Linked DNA regions of Homo sapiens: regions 2, 3 and 4 are each linked to region 1. The links are contacts of gene promoters, found by promoter capture Hi-C in human tissues and cell types (Jung and others, 2019). All regions are on one chromosome and are shown on one strand. The core of a region is centred on a gene start or on the middle of the fragment in contact, and the rest is flanking DNA. Distances in the headings are between cores, read along the strand shown.

Region 1 (2,872 bases), core at 370-2,869:
CCCATGCTTCCTAGCTGCCTGGCACTTTCTGGTGTTTCTGGCTAACTTTCTGGCCATGCCAGGAGTTGGTGGAAGGAGATCTCAGGCTGCAGCTTTGCTTTCCTGCTGAGGAGACAGAGGTAGGCTGGGGCTGTAGGACAGGGGAGGCCAGCAGCCCCACCTTCCTTCTGGAGAGACGCTGCCTGTCTGTCATTGCCCCTCTCCTGCACCTGGCCGCTGGCTGGCTGCTCTTCCCTCCCAATCACCAGCAAGCCAGCTCCTGTTCCCTGCAGCCCAGCCCGCAGGATGTGTCCTGGGACCCATAGCCCTCTCTCCCCAGAGACAGCACCGCCCTGCAGCTCGGGTTCCTGGCCCTGTGCTAACCCTGGTGGGGCTTTCCTTACTGGTCTGCTCTGCAGCCATGACATTGTGGCCACCGCTCTCCTTGGGACCCCCACCTGGCTTTCCTCCCAGCACATGCTGTTTCCTACCCACCTGGATGGTGTCCTGTGTGCTGGATTCCCCATGCTGTGTCCCCAGCATCCTGACCATGTCTGTCCCGCCTGCCTAGATCTTGCACCGTGGCCACGGGGCTCCCTCCTGATAGCCCTGAACGCTCCGCTCCATGTCCTACAGAGAGGGATGTCCCAAGTAGATGTCAGCTCCCTCCAGCATCTGAGCAGGCAGGACAGAGACCCACGGTGCTGCTCACATCAGCAGCCTGGAACCCCGAGACAGCTCCTTTTGCTCACCTCCCCCAACACTGATGTTGCACCTGTCTCCAAGCCACTCTGGGACCATCTGTTTCTCTCCATCTGGGAAGCCCCCTTCGCACCTCATGCTCTTCCTGGCTGGGGCGTCTGGGTCACTCACTGGACTCTCCTCTCCTTAGACCTGTGCACAAGCACACACGGGAAGGCATCCTGACAGGTGGTGGGAAGAGAAGGCAGCTGCCTCACTGCGGAAAGAGCACGGCCGCTCCTGGACTCCAGCCCTGTTGGGGCTGGCGGGGTCAGCAGGCGCTGGGTTCCAGCCTCAGGTGGGGTCTTTGGAGGTGGCCTCTGGGCACAGGCACCTCCTCTGCGGCCTTCTCACCAGGTCACGGTTCAGGGAGGCTTTGCCGGCTACGGAGCCTGCCCACACCAAGGCGCGCACGACCACCTGTCCAGAGATGCCACGCGGGCTGGGCGGCGAAGGCCAAGGACACGCCCTGCCTGGTGTCGGGGGCAAAGGTTAGGCCTGGAAGGGAGGTGTGGGGTGGGGACCCCGAGGCCAGGGCTGGGCCGCTGAGCTTCAGGGCCCTTGGGGGGCTCAGGGAGGAATGCCGGAGGACCCCAGCATCAGGAGGAACCCCTGGAGAGCTACGGCAGGACTCACCTGTGGGGCACAGGGAGGGATCACCAGGGAAATGGCCCTTGTGGAGGATCTCCCCTCTACCCCCAGGGCACCAGGGGAGGATCTACCAGGGGGTTCTGGTGGAAGGGCCCACCCGGGAAGCGGCGCGCGGGGAGGACTCGGGGGCGCCGAGAGGAACTGTCCGGGAAGGGGCGCGCGGGCCGCGGGCGGCGCGGGGTCGGTAACGGCCCGTGCGGTGGGCGGCGGCGCCCGAGGCCCCTCCCCGCCGCCCGCGGCCGCTCCTCCTCTTCCTCTCCCGCCCGCGCCGCGGCCCTCCCGTCCCTGCGCGGCCTCGGCGGCCTCGGCGGCGGCGGCGGCGGCGGCGGCGGCAGCAGCGCGGCCCCTTTAAACGCCTGCGGCGCCCCCCGCCCCCGCCATCGCGCCTCCATTTTCCCGGCCGCCCGCGCCGAGCGCCGCGCCCGCCCCGGGCCCCTCCGCCGCCGCCGGCCCGGACATGGCCGCCAACATGTACAGGGTCGGAGGTAAGGCCGCACCGCCTTTATGCCCGGCCCCGACCCGCCCGCAGCCCCCACCCGCCGCCGCTGCCGCCTCCCCCGCCCCTCTGCCCCGCAGGCCCCGCGCCCCCCGCCCGCCCTCGCGGCCCCCGGCTCCTTCCCGAACCGCCCCCCGCCGTGCTCACCCCAACCCAAAATGGCCCCGCGGGTCGGCCCCATCGGGGGCGGGCGGGGCTCGGCGGCCCGGGGGTGGGGGGCGGCCCACCTGTTGGGGCCGAGGGGGCGGCCGCGGGGGTGGCGGGGGGGCGCGGGGCCTGCGGGACATCCGGGGGTCCGGGGCCGGGAGCCCCCAGCGGGAGCACGTGGCCTTGGGAGGCGCCGGCTGCCGGTCTGGGAGCAGGAGTTTTGGGGCTGTGGGGTCTCCCCCGGCCCGCGGCCCTGTGCTGGGACTCCGGTGCATCCCCTCTGGGGATGGGGAGCCCCGGTGAGGGGCCACGTTCCTCCCTAGAGCCCTCCTGCAGCCTGGCCCCGGGGCTTCCCCCAGCAGGGATCCCTCAGGGGGTCTTCAGCAGGGAGCGAGCATCCCGAGCACGCCTCTAAGTCCCCCCAAACTTTTCCCTGCCTCTCGCTCACCTCAGCCCATTCGGGAGGCGCTTTGCAAGGGTTGGGGAGAGGCCGGAGGGCCTCCTGGGCAGGGGCTTCCTCCGTGGGCCCAGCCTCCTGTTGCTCGGGCCCCCCGGGCCTGCAGCTTTGAGCCTTGCCCTCCTTCGTGTGCCTGGGACTCCGTGGGGTCTTTCACAGGAAGGTGGGGGGTCGTGTGCATTCCATCATTCCATCAGCGCCTCCCTCCCCAGGACTCTGAGACCCCTCCCTGCCTGTGACCCTCTCGGGCAGGTGCTCATTACCTTTCCCACCTGCAGCCTGCGCTGCTGGAGGGAGCTGGGGTCACTCCCGCTCTGGCTTGATCCCCATGCCCCTGACCCCGAGTGCCCAGAACACTCTGTGTCTCTCGAGCGTGGCTTCTGCTGCCTTGGACGCCGTGT
Region 2 (2,730 bases), core at 24-2,523, 300 kb before region 1:
TTCTTCTTGTTGTATATTTCAACTTTCTCTTCTTTTTTTTAAAAAAATAAGCGTGACTCTCAGGGGATGTCTGCACGGGAACCCATGTCTCTGCTGCCCCACAAACACAGCAAGAGCCGCGAGCACGCGAATGCATGGCCAAGTTGGGAGGTCAGAAGGAGGGATGGGACCAAAGGAGGGAGTGTGTGTTTTTTTTTGTTTGTTTTGGTTTTTTTGAGACGGAGTCTCGCTCTGTCGCCCAGGCTGGAGGGCAGTGGTGCGATCTTGGCTCACTGCAAGCTCCGCCTCCCGGGTTCACGCCATTCTCCTGCCTCAGCCTCCCGAGTAGCTGGGACTACAGGTGCCCACTGCCACGCCTGGCTAATTTTTGTGTTTTTAGTAGAGACGGAGTTTCACCATGTTGGCCAGGATGGTCTCCATCTCCTGACCTCGTGATCTGCCTGCCTAGGCCTACCAAAGTGCTGGGATTACAGGCATGAGCCAACACGCCCGGCCAGGGAGTGTGTTTAAGAAGTCACGTGGCACACGGGGTGGAAGCAGAGGTAGATGGTCCGCCTGGGTGCTGAAGGCCCTTTCAGAACACAAAGAGAAATTAGGAGAATGGGCAGTGCAGGTTTTTGGGAAAAGAGCTGGTTTTTGTTGAAAAAGCAGAGGAAACCCCAGACATTGCATGGGTTTAGGCCTTAGCCTCACCACTGTCGAGAGCCTCCTGCCCAGGAGGGCCAAATTCTAACCTCCAATCTGCTTGGTGAGGACCTTAAGATCCTTTCCACCCTGGCAAGCCACCTGCCAGGGTGAGCTGAGAAATCAGCCAGGGGAGCAGAGTCACTTATGGCCAAGAGGAATTGTTCTGGGGTTTGGTTAGTAAGCAGGAGAAAGAGGAGAAGAAAACTGCGTATGGGGGTTGAATGCCTCTAGCAGAAGAAGGTGAGGCATAGAGGCCTCTTACCACTAGGGAACATATTGGAGTCACGCAGCAAAGTATGTTAACAGCAGAAGTTACCCAAGTCACAGAGCACCAACATATGCTATTGGTGGCAGGAATCCGAGCTACCGGTGGTGAGTCTGTAGGGGTCTGCAGCAACCTCAATTCTTGCCTCCTCAGAAGAAAGAATTTGACTGTGGGGCACAAGGCAGAAGGAGAGACCGAGGCCAGTTTCAGAGCAGAGGCAAAGGTTCATTAAAAAGTTTTAGAGCAGGAAGGAAAGGAAGGAAAGTGCACTTGGAAGAGGGCCAGGCGGGCGACGTGGAGGGCAAGTGCCTCTTTTCTCTCCTTGATTGGGTTTTCTCATTGCTTTTCTATTTTATTTTGATTTCATCCCCAAATAATTAGCTCCTAGACTTACTTATTTGTTCTAACCAACCTGAGTCCGTTCATTTTTGCTTCTGTCTTTACGATCTGACCCTTTGGGATGTGGTCGCCCATCATCCCCATGGCAGGCAGGGAGCCGTTTTGACAGCAGCATCTCCCTCTCTCACTCCCACCTGTGGAGGACAGCCTCGGGACTGGCCCAAATGCCAGCATTTGCTCTCCTGCCTATTTCCCAGGCCGTGGTGAGGGGCTTTTCCTCAGGGTCTTCATGGGGAGAGTCAGGGGATGAGTGCCTCTCTCCTCACTTTGCACTCCTTCCTCTATGTCATGCCAAGGCACTTCAGCGGCTCAGCCTCCAATGATGGAGGTGACTCTGGAGCTCAGGCTTCAATCAACCAACGAAGAAAAATGTTAGAGACACTTCCAGCTTTTTCTTTTTTTTTTTTTTTTTTTGAGATGGAGTCTTGCTCTGTCGCCCAGGCTGGAGTGCAGTGGCGCAATCTCCACTCACTGCAAGCTCCACCTCCCGGGTTCACACCATTCTCCTGGCTCAGCCTCCTGTGTAGCTGGGGCTACAGGTGCCCGCCACCATGCCCGGCTAATTTTTTGTATATTTAGTAGAGACAGGGTTTCACTGTGTTAGCCACGATGGTCTCAATCTCCTGACCTCGTGATCCGCCTACCTCGGACTCCCAAAGTGCTGGGATTACAGGCATGAGCCCCCACGCCCGGCCACTTCCAGCTTCTTGAACTAAAAATATTGAATTCAGAATCTCTTGTAAATGCACACAGCTCAACAGACTCTAATCTTTAAGTTTGTGCTTCCCTCCCAGGTCTAGTGTTTGCAGAAGCCACCCACCCCCACACACACACCCCCAGTCTTCTAACAATATAAATGACAAATCTTGCAAACCTTTTGATGTGTAAGCCTTCTTTTCCCAAATTAGGTTTGTGCTGATACCCCTGGGACATGCCGGGATCTGATTGTAATTGCAGGTTTGGAAGTGGTGAGGTTGGTAGTGGTGGAGTGGGATGGAAATCAGCACCTGCTTGCAAAGTAACCACATCAGGTGAGGTCACAGAGAGGTCTTCAAACAATGCAGGACCAGACCCATCAAACAGGGGCTACTTCTCTTGGTGTGATTGTCAGGGTATGCAGCTCATCGCCCCCCTCCTGATTCTGGGGTCCAACACCTTCCCAGTCCATGCCCTGATTCTCACAGAAGAGACCTGAGGGAGGGTGAAAGTCCGGTCTACATTGGCATTCAGCAAACCTCCCAATAATGCCCTGAGGCTGACCTGAGGGCACACCAGACTCAACAGCCTTAAGAGAGAAGAGATTCTTTCAGTGATGATGGAAACCTTGTTCTCTGACCAGGCCTTGAGCTCAGCATTTGAAAAGCCCAACTGTGTCATCT
Region 3 (2,700 bases), core at 101-2,600, 410 kb before region 1:
GGCGACAGCAAGACTCCATCTCAAAAAAAAAAAAAAAAAAAAAAAGGACAATTTAGGGAGAAAATCAGACATTTGACTATGAAGCAGGTGTTAGATATTAAAGAATTCTCCCTAATTTTCCAGTTACAATATGGTGTAAACCAAAAAGCATCTGAGGCAGCTCTCAATCAAGTCAGAGGTTTATTTTGCCAGAGCCCAGGAAAAAGAAACACAAAACCACAGGAACAGTCTGTGATCTGTGCTTTTTCCAAAGAGAGCAAGATTTGGGGACTTCAATATATACACATATTTTATGAGACAGAGTCTTGCCCTGTTGCCCAGGCTGGAGTGCAGTGGCACGATCTTGGCTCACTGCAGCCTCTGCCTCCCAGGTTCGTCACGCAATCGTCTCGCTCAGCAAATTGTGCTTTCATAAGCTACAGCAGACAAGCGCAGCTGCCTGTGGAGGCCTGTGGCCTTCTACCTGCAGCTGTTTGCTCAGAAACAAAAAGGCGGTTTCTTGAATGAGTCAGTTTCCAGCTTAATTTTTCCCTTTGGCCTAGTGAATTTGGGGGCCCTGAAATTGTATTTTTCTTTCACAATGGTATTGTGGTTGTGTAAGAAAATGTCTTTTTTGGCTGGGCGCATTGGCTCACACCTGTAATACCAGCACTTTGGGAGGTCAAAGCAAGAGGATCACCTGAGGTCAGGAGTTTGAGATCAGCCTAGCCAACATGTTGAAACCCCGCCTCTACTAAAAATACAAAAAATTAGCTGGGCATGGTAGCGGGCACCTGTAATCCCAGGTACTTGGGAGGCTGAGGCAGGAGAATTGCTTGAACCCGGGAGACAGAAGTTGCAGTGAGCTGAGATCGCGCCACTGCACTCCAGCCTGGGCGACAAGAGCGAAACTCCGCCTCAAAAAATAAATAAACAAAAGTCTTTTTAAAAAAGTTTAACCTGGCCAGGCATGGTGGCTCACACCTGTAATCCCAGCACTTTGGGAGGCCGAGGCGAGCGGATCACGAGGTCAGGAGTTCAAGACCAACCAGCCTGGCCAACATGGTGAAACCCTGTCTGTACTAATAATAGAAAAATTAGCTGGGCATGGTGGCACAGGCCTGTAGTCCCAGCTACTCAGGAGGCGGAGGCAGGAGAATTGATCGTACCGGGGAGGCAGAGGTTGCAGTGAGTCAAGATCACATGCCACTGCACTCCAGCCTAGGTGACGGAGGGAGACTCAGTCTCAAAAAAAAAAAAAAGGAAAGAAGTTTAACGTGTTTTTAGGGTCAAAATGTCTCAACATCTGGGATTTGTTTTAAAATTCTTTCAGAAACTCAAAAAGGCCAGGTGCGCTGGCTCATGCCTGTAATCCCAGCACTTTGGGAGGCCAAGGCGGGCGGATCACTTGAGGTCAGGAGTCTGAGACCAGCCTGGCCAACATGGCGAAATCCCGTCTCTACTAAAAATAATTAGCCGGGCGTGGTGGTGGGCGCCTGTAACCCAAGCTACTCGGGAGGCTGAGGCAAGAGAATCGCTTGAACCTAGGAGGTAGACGTTACAGTGAGCCAAGATTGCGCCACTGCACTCCAGCCTAGGCGACAGAGTAAGAGACTCTGTCTCAAATTAAAAAAAAAAAAAGGATGAACAGTGCTAACACCTGGTCAGCCCAGGCAGCAGGCCCGGGGGCTCAGTGTCCTGCTTCCCAGCTCGGGCTCCAGGTGTGTGAACTGTTCCAGGCAAGCCTGCCTGCTTCGGGACAGCACCTCTACCTCTGGCTGGGAGCTCTGCCTGGCCCTCAACTTGCATCCAGAAGGCGAAGCATGGGGAACCATGAGGCCACAGTCGAGGGCCAAGTGTTTGGGGTGGTGGCAGGGGTTGTGGCCTCCTGGGGACCCTCCCAGTCCCCAGTGACCCTCAGCACCAGGCTGGCCAGGCCCACGGGCGAGGAGGAAAATGCACGGCCCGTGCTCCTCGCAGCCGCACCCAGTGTGAGCACGGCTGAGCAGCTCTGCGGGAGTGGTGGCCCCGTGGTCACAGGGACAGGATCACAAACCAGGATCTTCCAACAGGCTGGGATCTGACCACTTCCCCGGCCCTCACCCCCAGCACCCCCTCCAGCTGCGCATGCACATACGTGTAGGTGCACACACACGTGCACACCCTCCTACACCACCCAGCCAGTCCCCACAGCAGGCAGCCAGGATGGAGGCAGCACCTTTCCGCCTGTGTCTCACCGTGGGACTGGGCTTAGGCTGACTTGGTACAGCCAGTCCCCAGGACGGGCTGGGCCTCTGGCCAGGGTCGGGAGGCAGAGGCACCGCCCCAACTGAGCTCTCAGAGCTGGGTAGTGCCCCTTCTTGTTCTCCTGCCCCTCAGTGGGTGGCTGGTCCTGCTGGGTGCCTGGGTCCAGCACAGCTGTCACAGGCCAGGCCACCAGCCAAGGTGGGAAGAACAGGGTGAAGACGGCAGAGCCCCTGGGAGAGCTTCCTGGGACCCGATCTTCAGCTTGTGGGCAGCACGCACCCCACCTGGCTCTTGCCCTGCAGGCTGCCCAGCTTTATCACTGGTGGGGTCATTGGTGGGGCAGCCCCTCCTGGGGCCCAGCACCACAGTGCCCTCTGTCCCCAGGCCTGCCCAGCTCTTTGTAGGGTCCTGGAACGCCCCTTCTCTGACCCCAGCGGGAAATGAACCCACCTGTAATGAAAGTCCTGTCTGTCA
Region 4 (2,834 bases), core at 215-2,714, 490 kb before region 1:
CCCCGTCTCTAATAAAAAATACAAAAATTAGCCGGGCGTGGTGGCACGTGCCTTAATCCCAGCTACTTGGGAGACAGAGGCAGGAGAATCGTATGAACTCGGGAGGCAGAAGTTGCAGTGAGCCGAGATAAAGCCGTTGCACTCAAACCTGGGGTACAAGAGCGAGACTTCTCTCAAAGGAAAAAGAAAAAAAAAAAGACAGAAGAGAACCTGTTCTGTCTAACTGCCTTTTGCTTGAGTGCAGGGAAGGCAGCCTCCCTTCATACTCATGCCCCAGCCCTGCAAATGTCACAGCAGGACCCACCTGGCTGCCCCTCCCCATACCCAGAGTAACCCTCACCCAGAGTCCCTGGAGGACCCAACCCTCGGGGGCATGCCTGGGGCCCAGCTGCATTCAGGCATCCAGCAACCCAGCCAGAGGGCTGGGGCTCCCCAACCATGGCCGGGAGGTAAGGGCTGAACCCAAGGCCAAATCAGAGCATCAGGAAGGTGAAGAGAGATCTGGGAGGGGCTAGGGAGAGGATGGATCTCTTCCCCATTCACTTCCTGGCCCACCCAGACTGGCCCCAGGGGTGCAGCTGACAGGCCCCACCCTTGGGAACTGCACCCTCCTGACTGGTGTCCTGCAGGCACCCTGAGGCCATCACCCTGGACCCCTGCCCTACATAGGCCTTACAAGGAGGAGCCAGGGTGGACACCCAGACCTCATTGAAAGTAGGAGTGTTCTCAAGGTCCCAGACCTTACTCAGGGACCCCAGTCGGGGGGTGGGGCAGTGGGAGGCAGAGCCCCTTGCTAGGAGCTTCTAGCCAGGCCCACCTTTTCAGATATGCCAGTGAGCAGCCCCAGCTTCGTTCTCCAAGATAAAGACCCTAGTTACCTCCATTGCTCAGCCTCCCTTGCAGCTAAGTGTAGCCATGTGACTAAGTTCTAGATCAAGTTCCAGATCACAGATAAGTGGAAGTGCCCTGTGGGACTTCCAGGAAGTCTCCTCTGGGATGTCCCTTATTCTCTGCTAAGAACACAGAGGCAATGGCTGAGTTCCAGCAGCCACTGTGAGGCCATGAAGGCAGGGATCCTAGGGACTGGGATCTGAGAGCCTGGCTCCCAATGGCAGTGGAGCAATGCCATCATCTCTAGCAAGGCCGTCTCTAGCCTGCCAGCCCCTGGACCTGCTTAGTGTTCGAGAGTAATGAACAACCTTGCTGAAGCCACTGTTCCTTAGGTGTCTGTGGCCTGCAGCTGAACTTGACTCCGATTCGTAGGCCCGCAACTGGAGGGCCTCTACCTCGAGGGAGTGGGGTGTAGATTTTTCCTGGAGGTGAAGGTTCTCAGCCCTACCCTCTAGCCCGCCCACCCAGCTCCAGCCGTCTGTTTCTGTCTCAGATGAGAGGGGGCCTCTCAGGACAAAGAGGAAGTAGCTGGAAGGGGAAGGAGCCAGCTGCAGAGAGGAGGAGGTGAGCTGCAGAGAAGAGGAGGTTGGTGTGGAGCACAGGCAGCACCGAGCCTGCCCCGTGAGCTGAGGGCCTGCAGTCTGCGGCTGGAATCAGGATAGACACCAAGGCAGGACCCCCAGAGGTATGTGCCAATGAGGCCAGGGCAGCTGAGAAAAGCCAGGCATGGGGAAAGGGCTGCTGTCTGCCTCCCTATGGCCTCAGCCTCCCAGCAACCCCAGGTCCAGAGAGTCACACAGCCTCCAGCTAGTCCTGTAGATGACTCGCTCCGTCCCCAGTCCGTGCAGCTGGGATAAGCTGGGCCCTGGCTCTCCAGCCAGGTGACAGCTGGGCCCTCTACCTCAGCCTGGGACTGGCAGCCATGCCTAATGCCCTGCAGGGCAGGAAATCTGGCACCTTCAGCCATGACCTCTGATGTCTGCAGGGTCTTACGCTATCTACCATGGGACCAGGGGGCTACAGCCCTACTCTGCAGGGGTCTCTCAGCTTGAGCCAACCTGGCTGGCGGTCCTCCCAGGTTCCATTGCAGGAGGAGGTGGTGAGGCGCTCTGGGGTCTGTAGTCCTGGGAGGGGACTTGGACAGGCTCCAAGTCTGAGATGGGGCCTGCAAGAGGCAGCGCCTCTGTGCTCTGAGCTGCCCGTCTGCCTGGAGCATTTAAGGGAGCAAAGGTCCTCTCTGGTGAGGGCAGGGAGTGTGGGGAGCAGCTGTCCAAGAACAGCCCTGGCACCTCGTTGCCCAGCCACAGCCCAGGATTCCATGTTTCCTCTCATTGACCAGCCACAGCCCAGGATTCCATGTTTCCTCTTCTGAGAGTTAGTGGGGGAGAGCAAAGGCCCGATGCTGGGCCCTGAATCCCTGGGGACAGTGGGGACACGGTGGGCACCCTGAGGTCTCCTCTGTGGGGTGGGGGGAGCATCCCCCAGAGTTCAGCTCTGGGGTGGGGGCGGCACCCACCCACCTCTGCAGGACCCCCCAGCGTGGGGGGAGTTGGGCCGCAGTGACTTGGCCTGAGTCCCCTGTCCCCACACTTGGTTTATGCTCCTACCCCCAATCCCCCATAACGCTTGGTCTCCAGGGCAGACTCAGTCCAGGCCCGACTCCTGTGGTGTTCCTGGCATTTCCGCCCCATGCTGAGGCAGGCCAGGTTCTCAAAGCCCTCAGCCCTGACCCGTGGGAGGACAGCCCAGACGAACCCCAGAGGCCTGGAGGCTGAGCTGGCTGCTCCTGGGTGGACAGCCGACCCACCGAGCCCTGGGTCCCAGCGCCCAGCCTGGCTGCAGACACTGGCACTCAGCACTGCCCAGGCCCAGGCCCCAAACCTCGGAGACATCCCCATCCCAGCCAGGGGCCAGCCAGCTCCTGCCCTGGTGGATGTCTCAGT

What was found. The method cuts DNA at HindIII sites, captures the fragments that hold promoters and counts their contacts. A contact is called where the count stands out against the background at its distance.
Region 2: a fragment that was not itself captured here is called in contact with the fragment with the promoter of MTA1 in region 1 in 1 of the 25 tissues and cell types used here (lymphoblastoid cells).
Region 3: a contact is called between a fragment that was not itself captured here and the fragment with the promoter of MTA1 in region 1, in 1 of the 25 tissues and cell types used here (mesendoderm cells).
Region 4: the fragment with the promoter of PLD4 here is called in contact with the fragment with the promoter of MTA1 in region 1 in 3 of the 25 tissues and cell types used here (H1 embryonic stem cells, heart right ventricle and neural progenitor cells).

Annotation. Positions count from the first base shown.
Region 1 is chr14:105,418,208-105,421,079 of GRCh38, forward strand. It overlaps MTA1 (metastasis associated 1), which reads left to right and starts at 1,620. Exons shown (of 21, transcript NM_004689.4): 1 at 1,620-1,856. The coding sequence starts at 1,829. It overlaps MTA1-DT (MTA1 divergent transcript), which reads right to left and starts at 1,532. Exons shown (of 2, transcript NR_125385.1): 1 at 815-1,532; 2 at 1-102. RefSeq lists an enhancer at 1-486 and silencers at 1,184-1,283, 1,314-1,363, 1,454-1,713. The HindIII fragment of the contact is 32,458 bases long and covers 1-2,872 here.
Region 2 is chr14:105,114,631-105,117,360 of GRCh38, forward strand. No RefSeq gene overlaps it. Among named protein-coding and RNA genes, the nearest start is that of LINC02298, 22 kb to the left of the region's middle. The HindIII fragment of the contact is 7,874 bases long and covers 1-2,730 here.
Region 3 is chr14:105,003,815-105,006,514 of GRCh38, forward strand. No RefSeq gene overlaps it. Among named protein-coding and RNA genes, the nearest start is that of CDCA4, 16 kb to the right of the region's middle. The HindIII fragment of the contact is 8,903 bases long and covers 1-2,700 here.
Region 4 is chr14:104,923,415-104,926,248 of GRCh38, forward strand. PLD4 (phospholipase D family member 4) reads left to right here and starts at 1,465. Exons shown (of 11, transcript NM_138790.5): 1 at 1,465-1,576. RefSeq lists enhancers at 1,638-1,807, 1,790-2,299. The HindIII fragment of the contact is 18,191 bases long and covers 1-2,834 here.